Regions from separate parts of the Homo sapiens genome. Here region 1 is linked to region 2. Evidence: promoter capture Hi-C in 16 types of primary human blood cells and fetal thymus (Javierre and others, 2016). All regions are on one chromosome and are shown on one strand. The core of a region is centred on a gene start or on the middle of the fragment in contact, and the rest is flanking DNA. Distances in the headings are between cores, read along the strand shown.

Region 1 (4,943 bases), core at 987-3,486, 250 kb after region 2:
ACCATGCCTGGCTCCCAATTATCTTTTGAATTCAGATGTGAATTCTGAACCTCCATGATAGTAGAAATGGGTAAGGTAAAAGGGTACAACTGAACCAGTATATGATAAGGAGCTAAAAGATGGAAAGAAAGGGCAAGAAAGTCCTCTCCTCTGGGCTAAACACACCTGGGGGCAGCCCAAGGTTTCACTGGTAACAGCAACTCAAGAAAGACCATGGCTGGAAAAGTAGTATTCCCAAGCGCTGGGACTAGGATGCTGGATTCCAAGGAGAAGCTGATTCAGATTCATTCTTCCCAGATAATGTTAGTTACACTCCTGGGAAATCCAGGTATTAGCAATTCATCAACATTTTAGATACCTCATGGAGGGAGCAGAATCCCAAAGTAAGAAATACCACTGTACCTTGGGCCTCCAGTTTCTTTAGGGGGCGGTTGTCTGTCTTGTTCAATAGCTCAGTGATTTTGACCTTAGGTGGCCGACCTCGACCCCGTTTCACCTTGGGGACTTCCTTAGTCTTAGCCTTCTCAGTGTTTCGAGGTCGACCCCGTTTGCCAGTAATTGCCTGAATCCTCGACGGGATCTCCTCTGCTGAGAGCTGCACCCACTGCAAGCCCTAAGGTAGCAAGGGAGACTGTTACAGTAGTAAGGAATCAGTGCAGGCCACGAGGCCCTCGGAACCATTCAATGCCCCAGAACCTTCAAACCCCACGAGAGGAAGCTGCAGCTTGTCCACCAACTCTTCCTCAGGGACAAAAGCATATTTAACCCTTGGGTCTGCACCTCTGGCGTGTCTCTTTCTTCAAAGAAATCTCCAACAGGCATACGGGGACTGAAGCTGAAGTGCTCTCGGCGGACACTGTGTACCACGTTGCGGCTCAGGTACTAAGAGGAAGAAGTAAAGTAACATTAATAAAGTTGGATCCTACCATGTCTTTGGCCAGCAAAGGCATAAGCAGAACAGGCCCAGAGCAGACAATGCCAGCCTGTTGTCACTGAGCCCAAGAACGGAGTCTTGGGCAGTGGAAAGGAGTCCACTGAGCCCAAGAAAGCAGTCCTTTAAAAAAAGCTACATTACCTTGATCACTTCTGGAAATTGCTTCATCCTCTTCCCACAGGGGCCATAATACCAGGTCTCCCCCTGCCATCGGTGGCTGCCCTTCTTGATGCGCACCTCTCTCCGCCACCTGCCAGAGAAGCACATGGGCCCTGCCGCCAGGTCACACCCCTACCCACTCCCATGCCACCTAAGCGCGAAGCCCTCTGAGCAGATGGCCCTCCCCACATTTGTATCTCTAGAACTGCATGCAGATGCAAAAGCACCAAGAGAGATAAGCTTGGCTAGAAGGCTGACTTGAGCTCCAGCAAATACATCAAGGCCCTTAGGAGAAAAGCACTACACCAAACTGCACAAGCTCAGAGAGATCTCCATCCCTCCTTTACAAAATCAGTGAGATAAGCTGCCAGAAACCCCTCCCTGAGCCATTCAGGGCAGTTACTGGATTTCCAGTAAAGAGGATAAAGACCTAAGGGGAATAAAGACAGAAGACAAAGGGCAGGGAGGCAAGCAGAAAAATAAATTTGCTGCTGATTCCATGAAAAGACTCAATATGCCAGGGTTTAGTTAGGAACTCTGTGTTCTGAGCAGAACACAAAGTTAGTCAGAGTTAGTTCTAAGACTAACTCTAATCTTTCTCTCAAAATTTTAAGCAGTACTCAGACTTGGTGACCACAAGTAGCCTTGAGGGGCAGGGGTGGGGAAGATCCAGGAAGGCAGTTATTTCCACAAGGCCCTGGTGTCAGCTAGTTTGTTCATTTTGGTCATGTACTGTTCCTGCCCTTACCTCTCCTAAGAGCATTAAAACAACAAAACCACCTCAATTCATTAGTACTAAGTCACTCCTCATTCATTACTATCCCTTGTCCACAGAAATAGGACAAGCCAGCTGGTTTGGATGTGAGCCCTAGGGTTTGGAAAAGATAATAGCTGGAGCTCCTTGGGCAAAATTGAGTCACTACAAGATGAAAAAAGAATAGGTGATGGAAGACAGACCTTGAGAGAAGAAGGAAAACCTAGGAATCTCATGCCAAGAAACATTATCACTGCAGATAACTGTCCTGTAATCTACTCTTGTCTGGCCCATTCCTCCCCCACCTCAGAGGAAAAGAGGCATTCCCTTCTTTCTAGAGTTGTGCATTAAACTTGTCAAGGTCAATAAATGTAGCAAACTAGAGCATTTACCCATGTTGGAGGGGAAGACGAACTTCTTCTGGGGTAGCAATACGTCTCCTCATGACATCACCTTGGGAGGAAGGGATACCCAAGTTAAGAGTTCAAGCAAAATATTTAAACAATAGGCCAATAGGGAAAGGCTAACTACAACATGGGACAGAAAAGTTTCTTGGAACCAGACAGGGATAGAATAGAATCTGGATACTCACCACTACCAGAAGCAGTGAGTCCTTCTCCAGTGATCTCTTCCACGTCAGCAGTGGTTTCTAGAAAGCTGCTGACATCCTTATTTGCTGGGGAGGCTGTTGGAAAGGCAGCTGCTGGGGAAGTTACGGGAGAGGCTTTTGGGGATGTCACTGAAGCCGTCAACGGGACTTCTAAGGAGACTGCTGGGAGGACTGCTGAGGAAGCTGGAGAGACCACTGAGAAGACTGCTGGAGAGACAACTGTAGAAGCTGCGGGACAAACTTCTGGAGAGATTTCTGGGGAGGCTGCTGGAGAAACCACTAGGGAGACTGCTGGGGAGGTTGTTGGCGAGACTGCTGGTGAGGTTGCTGGATGTAGCTGAATAGTGGATGACTGATCAGGAGCTGGCTGGGTCAGGGATGGTGGGAAGTCTGAAGATTGAGTTTCCATTTCTTCCTGTTCAGCGTCACTACCATTATTCAGGTCAAAGCTGTTATCTAGAATCCAAAGGGACAGGATAGGCTTTAAAAAAAAAAAAGGCATCACATAAAACAAGAGAATCTACTCAGTCAACCCTGGACCAAGCTAAACAGGGTTACTTCAAGGGGTCTTCCCTAGGGTTGGAAAAAGAAGTAGCTTTTTCTCCCAACCAATCATGAGGATTAAAGGGTAAAGTTGCTACAGATGTCATTGTGTGAAGAAATACCTTTTACCTGGTGCCAATAAAGCTTCTAGCCTCCTTCTCCCTACAAATTCCAAGTCTCACAAGTTCTTCAAAGCAGAGGGCACAGGTCGGAGTATAGCAGCCTATACCTCTTTTAGTTCCACCATACACTATCCCATAGCCCCTCAGCTCCCAGCAAGGTGCTCTTGCTTTCCTACTTTTTTTTTGAGATGGAGTCTTGCTCTGTTGCCCAGGTTGGAGTGCAACGACACAATCTCGGCTCACTGCAACCTCTGCCTCCTGGGGCCAAGCGATTCTCCTGCCTCAGCCTCCCAGGTAGCTGGGATTACAGGCATGTGCCAACACACCTGGCTAATTTTTGTATTTTTAGTAGAGGCGGGGTTTCACCATGTTGGCCAGGTGGTCTCAAACTCCTGATCTCAGGTGATCCACCCGCCTCGGCCTCCCGAAGTGCTGAGATTACAGGCGTGAGCCACTGCGCCCAGCCAGATTTCCCACTCTTAAGGCCCTAACTATGAAACTTATTCTCTCATCTTTTCTCAGGTAAAGGTCTTTCTTTGTCCTACCTACCGTCACTTACCTTGCAGGACAGACTCCCCTAGGACAGGTGGAGAGGTGGGACTGGCAAAGATAGAGGTTGATGTTTGACTATCATCTGCCAGGAGACTGAAGGCAGTAGCATTATTGAGGGAAGGGCAATCAAGGGCAGAAATCACAGGGCTGTCCTCAAGAGGCAGCTTGTCCTCTGCACCCATCAGCTCCGTGTCATCAATACCATATAGTCCTCCACTCACTGGCTCTGTTTACAAGGGTAGAAAAATCAGAGCAGGATAATGAGAAAAAAATCAGAAAGCAAGATTTAAGAAACACTGGTCAGAAAACATCCAATTCTAGTTCCCACAATGTGAAGATTCTTCCTAATATTAAGTTAGGTAACAAGTAAAGCCTTCTCCCTGAAAGAGTAGTCATGAGATTATAGGGATCATAAAAGTTTGAGGGGAGGCCGAGGCAGAAGAATTGCTTGAGGCCAGAGTTCAAGACCAGCCTGGACAACATAGCAAGACCTCATCTCTACAAGGTGAAAATGAAAGGAAAGGCATTGGTGGTATTATCTACCCAGAGACCTATGCAAAATTCTAGGATTTATCATAAAATATGTCTTTCTTGTACTTCAGTGGAGTAAAAGGTAACTGCTCACTGACAAATGTTTTCTTCCTAGTTTGTCAGAACCCAGAAAGATCAACTGTGTGATAATAAGTCCCTACCCAGTGAATTATTACAGCCCAGAGCTCTTGGCCAAAAGGAATACTGGGAAAGAACCTGGGACATGAACCAATTCAGCTCAGAATTCAGTTAGGGCACCAAGTCCTGTGGCATGTAACTGTGGTCTGCCTTAGGCCTACCTGGAAGCCCCAGTGCCCCTGATTGCCTAATACTTTTCCCATTTTACTGTCTCTTTCAGGTAAAGTTTGGCTACTCTGCATGGATAAGTTAAAGGGACATAGCCTCCAAACCTACCTGGTGCCAGAGAGTTGAAGGGCTCCAGAGAGTCTTCACTGAGGATTGGAGTGTCTTCCAGTTGATCAGGAAGATGTGAAGGATCATCTAAACAGCTCACTGTGGGGTCAGGGACCAGGACTGAGACCTCTTGGTGTAACGATTCCACAGAAGGGACAGAGCCATTGTAGCCACACATCTTCAGTTCTAGGAAATCACAGGAGAGACCAAAAGTCAAAATCAGTGCCTTATATTGGTTCACTTAGCTATACTAGGCAGTCAATCTTTGCTAGAAGGATGTTCATTCATTCAACATTTATTGCGGCCAGTTCATTGCTGGGAACC
Region 2 (5,437 bases), core at 501-3,000:
ACGTTCTTACGTTTTACTGTACAGCCTTCCTCCTGGATAAATCAGATTAAAATTTTGAAGACATGTATATAGCTTGTCAGGGTAGTACAGTTATTAATTCTGTGGTTACCACATTCTTTTATATCTCAAGACTCCCAGCCCCAGGATCTAAGTCATAGCTCTTGATTATGGCCCACCCCCAGTAGGGAGCTGAACTTACTACTTCTGATATGAAAGAAGCCAGAGTAGTTGTTTCTTCCAAGTCACTCACATCTGAGATGGCCCTCAAACCCTCCTTGGTGGTCTCCGGCTGAGAGATGTTTGCGTCTTTCTGATCTTGGTAATACTGGATCAACTGCTGAACCCCAGACCTTAATGCAGGTTTAAGTGCAGCACTGATCGCTAGACCCATAGGCCCCCCTGACATCCCAGCCATGGTCATCAGAAGGTCATATCCCAGATCTATGGCCCCATCTCGGCCTCGTTCCCTGGCCTTGCCCAGGCAGTTTTGAGTAGCATAATACAAAGCTGTGCCCAGGTTGTAGAAGGTTCCCACTCCTGGCAGCAGCTGGACTACATTGTGCACAGCTTGCTCCTTCTCATTCTCACAGTCCTCTGTCGGGAGGGAGCGCCCGACCCTTCCTGTGCTTTGCTGCTCCCTGGCTAACAGCTGCAGAGCAGAGGCCAGGGCTTCCACTGACACGTTCCTCTCTGTGCTTCTGCCTTTCTGGAGCCCTCGAAGATGCTGGATGAGGACCTGTGTAGCATTCACACCACCCTGGCGGTAGAGCTGTAGCTGTAGAGCCCAAACATCAGCCTGACAACCAGCTTCCTCCAGGGCATTCCTTAGAGCCAGGCTTACCAAGAACTTGGGTAGAGGGGCCATGTGGCTGAAACCAGGCAGTGACTTTGGGTGCAGAAATTGGCAGGACAAGGGGTCTGAGGAGGGTGTCTGGGATTCCAAGGACAAGGGAAAGTGCATCAAGACATTTGTCTGCTTTCCATATGAAGTGGCATCCACAGGGTGCAGCAGGAGGTAGCAAAGTAGCAGCTCAACTGGTATCATGATGAGTCTGAGGCCACGCATGTCTGGAGCAGAGTACCCTAGAAAGGGGAGAAATCCGAAACATACAAACCATTTCCCTAAGGGCGATGGTGAGCCCAAGACTCAGTTAGGGGGACACCTCATACATCACCTGCTTCCAAGCTTTTGTACTTTCTTTTTAGAGACAGGGTCTTGCTCTGTTGCCCAGACTAGAGTGCAGTGATGGGATCACAAATCACTGCTGCCTTGAATTCCTGGGCTCGAGGGATCCTCCTGCCTCAGCCTCCCAAGCAGCTGGGACTACAGGTGCGTGACACCATGCCCAGCTAATTTTTAAATTTTTTGTAGAGACGTGGTTTTGCCATCTGGCCCAGCCTAGTTCTGAACTTTGGGCTCAAGTGATCCTTCCACCTCCGCCTCCCAAAGTGATAGGCTTCCAGATGTGAGCCACCGCGCCTGGCCCCAAGCTTCTGTTCTTTTTAGGTAAAGGCCTAGGAAATAGGAAATGCACCCCAGTTGCTCCCACTTGGTCTCCCCCATTTACAGGTCACCAGGGACTTCTGTTTTATTTCCACCCATATATAGGGACCCCAAATTACCACACAGTCCAGTCATTGAGAAGTGAGACTGCCTTGGTAGGTTTGATCGCTTCCTGATCCTGTTCTGCCTAGTTCTGTGTCCCATGAGGAAAGGAGATATTTGCTTTCCCCTATGATCAGTGAAGGATGTAATCTCTGCAAATATTTGCCCATTTATACTGGCTGCTCAAACCTTGTGCCCCTTGTCACACACTCAACCTCTATGCCTACAGTCCTGTTCTTTGGCATTTCCTGTATGTCCCTGCCACATTCCCACTCTAAGCTCATGATAGGAGCCAGGGAAATTCAGAATTAGGAAAGATGAGATGTTTGTGATACTCTCATTTCTCTTCATTTTAAAAATTAAATTAGCGGCTGAGCATGGTGGCTCACGCCTGTAATCCCAGCACTTTGGGAGGCCAAGGCGGGCGGATCACAAGGTCAGGAGTTCGAGACCAGCCTGGCCAATATGGTGAAACCCTGTCTCTACTAAAAAAAAAAAAATATATATATATATATATATATATATACACCCAGGCGTGGTGGTGGGCGTCTGTAGTCCCAGCTACTCAGGAGGCTGAGGCAGGAGAATTGCTTGAACCCGGGAGGTGGAGGTTGCAGTAAGCCAAGATCGCACTACTGCACTCCAGCCTGGGTGACAGAGTGAGACTCCGTCTTAAAAAAAAAAAAGGAGGGGAGCTGACACCTACTAAGTGGAGAGGGGCAAGGCTAACACTGGTCACATATGTGTTTAAGGGAAGAGGTGAAATAAAGAGCATTCATCTGTCCTAAGTGGTCTCCAACATTTCTAACTACTTACTGTGTGCCATCCTTGAATACAGTCCTGGGAAAGGAGACTCATTACTTATGTGATATTGAATAGCTGAAATGAGCCGGGATCAATTCCTGGATCATTTTCCTCACAAAGCACTTCAGAATAGCTGTGGAACATTTGATAGATTATATTGTCACTGTCCATGGACAATTTAAATGATCTTGAGAGCTTCTTCAACTTTTTGCCTAATTCTTCAATATGCTCCCAAGACTCATACCTGCAGTTCTTGGTGATGTGGACACCCAAAACTTTGAACTGTGACACCAAGCATCATGGGAGATGGTTTCTCAGCAAACTCAATCACCATCTGAGCTACCTGGTAGGCCAGCTACCCCAGTGGGTATATTTGCCACCATCCATACATTTCCCAGGATGGGCAGCTGGGTGCTGGGTTTATTCACACTTCCCTAAGGGACTACTAGATTCGTCACAATGATGTTGGTATTGCCTTCCTCCCCATTGAACTTTTTGACTCTCACGGATGAGGGTTTCAGTGGTATCCTTTCCTCGCATCTGAAACTGCAGAACATGGGCCTCAGTTGGGCAGCCCACCTCCTCCAAGGGCACCCTCAGAGCTAAGTTGGACAGGTACTCAGGCAGAGGGGCTAGGGAGGGGGCTGTGTGTAAGAGATCTTGGCAGATCCTGGGATCTGGGAGAGGAATCTGGCTCTCCATGTTCTCCAAATAATGGAGAGCATGTTTGATGGATGCCCAGTCTCTGTTAAAGATGGCTGGAGGGTCAGAGTCTCATTCTGAGCATTTCTTGGAAAGGCAGACACCAGGGACAGCAGGACACAGCAAAGCAGCAGCACAGCTTGGACCATGGGGGGACAGCAGAGCAGCCCTGCTGGAAGGAAGCAGTGCTCAGGTTGGGAAGTGGAGAAAGGCTCAGGACAAAGAGACACCAAGACTGGCCAGAGCTAGAAAGTGTCTTAGCTCTTGGAAACTTCGGTTGCCCTGAGCACACCTCATCTTCACTCTTAAAGGATGTGGGTGATCCTCCTATTTTGAGGAGAAACAAGTCAGAGGAAAAAAACAGTCCAAACATCTCATTTGCTTTGGTATCTTCATGACCTGAATTACTATTATTGTTGTTGTTGCTGTTTTTAATCTGCCCTTTCCCAGAATCACAAGGAAACCAGAAAGTTGATGGCTTCCAAAACAGTGAAGGACAAAACATTTGCAAATATTTATGCATCTCTTCCCAGCCCAGACTTTGTCCTTCTCACCTTTGACCCATACTGACAAACTGACCTTTCCCCTTTTAGGCCCTGCAGTCCTGTCCCATATCTTTTTTTTTTTTTCTTTTTCTTTTTCTTTTCCTTTTTTTTTCTGGAGACACAGTCTCACTCTGTTGCCCAGGGTAGAGTGCAGTGGCACGATCACAGCTCACTGCAACCTCCACATCCCGGGTTCAAGCGATTCTTGTGTCTCAGTCTCCCTAGTAGTTGGGATTACAGGCACGCACCACCATGCCTGGCAAATTTTTGTTTTGTTTTGTTTTCTGGAGACAGTCTCACTCTGTTGCTCAGGCTGGAATGCAATGGCGTGATCTTGGCTCACTGCAACCTCCACTTCCCAGGTTCAAGAGATTCTCTTGCCTCAGCCTCCCGAGTAGCTGGGACTACAGGTGTGCGCCACCACGCCTAGCTAATGTTTTTGTATTTTTAGTAGAGATGGAGTTTCACCATGTCAGTCAGGCTGGTCTCAAACTCCTGACCTCGAATGATCTGCCTGCCTCGGCCTCCCAAAGTGTTGGGATTACAGGCGTGAGCCACGGCACCCAGTGACATATCTTTTCTATCCTAAGGTTTTACCCTAAACCTATATTTGAGCTGAGGAAAAGGTCCTCCGTATCTTCTTGAGGGGAGAAAGGGTAAGGCAGAATAGCTGGTGATCTCTGGGACCCCTAAACCATTTTTCTTTTCTTTTTTTTTCTGAGACGGAGTTTCGCTCTTGTTGACCAGGCTGGAGTGCAATGGCGCGATCTCAGCTCACTGCAACCTCCGCCTCCCAGGTTCAAGTGATTCTCCTGCCTCAGCCTCCCAAGTAGCTGGGATTACAGGCGTGTGCCACCATTCCCGGCTAATTTTGTATTTTTGGTAGAGACGGGGTTTCTTCATGTTGGCCAGGCTGATCTTGAACCCCTGACCTAAGGTGATCTGCCCACCTTGGCCTCCCAAAGTGCTGGGATTACAGGCTTGAGCCAGCCACAGCGCCTGGTCACCATTTTTCTTATTAAAAGAATATATTGGTTGGGAAGCCAAGGCAGGCAGATGGCTTGAGCCCAGAAGTTTGAGACCAGCCTAGGCAACATGGCGAAAGCCCCGTCTCTACAAAAATTATAAAAATTAGCCAGGAGTGGTGGCATGCACCTGTAGTCCCAGCTACTGGGGAGGCTGAGGTGGGAGGATCACCTGAACCTGGGGAGGTCAAGGCTGCAGTGAGCCATGATTACACCACTGCACCATCCAGACTGGGTGACAGAGCGAGACTTTGTCTGAAAAAGAGAATATACTGGATGGGAGTCCAGGGAAACTGGACAGATTGACAAATAAGACAAAATCAGAGCAACTTTTTTTTTCTTTTTTAGAGTCCAGTCCAGGTATTGCTCTATCTCCCTGGCTGGAGTACAGTGGCCTGATCATGGCTCACCACAGCGTTTAACTCCTGGGTTCAAAAGATCCTCCTGCCTCAGCTTCTCAAGTAGCTGTGACTACTGGTGTGCACCACCATGCCTAGCTAAAATTTTTTTTTTTTTTTTTTGTAGAGATGAGGTTTCACTATGTTTCCCAGACTGGTCTTGAACTCTTGGTCTCAAGCAGTCCTCCCACCTCAGCCTCCCAAAGTGCTGTGATTAGAGGCATGAACCACTGCACCTGGTTTATTTTTCACTTTTCTAATTCCAATGCAAAACACAAATAAAACATGTCCATCAGCTGAGCAGTAACTTTCCAAATCTAACCAAAACTCCAGGAATTAGGCTTTATCTTGGGTTTA

Evidence for each region. Contacts are between HindIII fragments. The CHiCAGO score rates a contact against its expected background, and 5 or more counts as called.
Region 1: a contact is called between a fragment that was not itself captured here and the fragment with the promoter of APOF in region 2, in 2 of 17 cell types (erythroblasts and M2 macrophages). The highest score is 5.6, in erythroblasts.

Annotation. Positions count from the first base shown.
Region 1 is chr12:56,609,334-56,614,276 of GRCh38, forward strand. It overlaps BAZ2A (bromodomain adjacent to zinc finger domain 2A), which reads right to left. Exons shown (of 29, transcript NM_001300905.2): 4 at 4,620-4,805; 5 at 3,682-3,900; 6 at 2,440-2,913; 7 at 2,240-2,300; 8 at 1,076-1,184; 9 at 781-882; 10 at 403-613. Among named protein-coding and RNA genes, the nearest start is that of BAZ2A, 19 kb to the right of the region's middle. The HindIII fragment of the contact is 1,811 bases long and covers 1,332-3,142 here.
Region 2 is chr12:56,361,107-56,366,543 of GRCh38, forward strand. It overlaps APOF (apolipoprotein F), which reads right to left and starts at 1,751. Exons shown (of 2, transcript NM_001638.4): 1 at 1,624-1,751; 2 at 1-1,083. The coding sequence starts at 1,639. The coding sequence ends at 119. The HindIII fragment of the contact is 6,609 bases long and covers 1,490-5,437 here.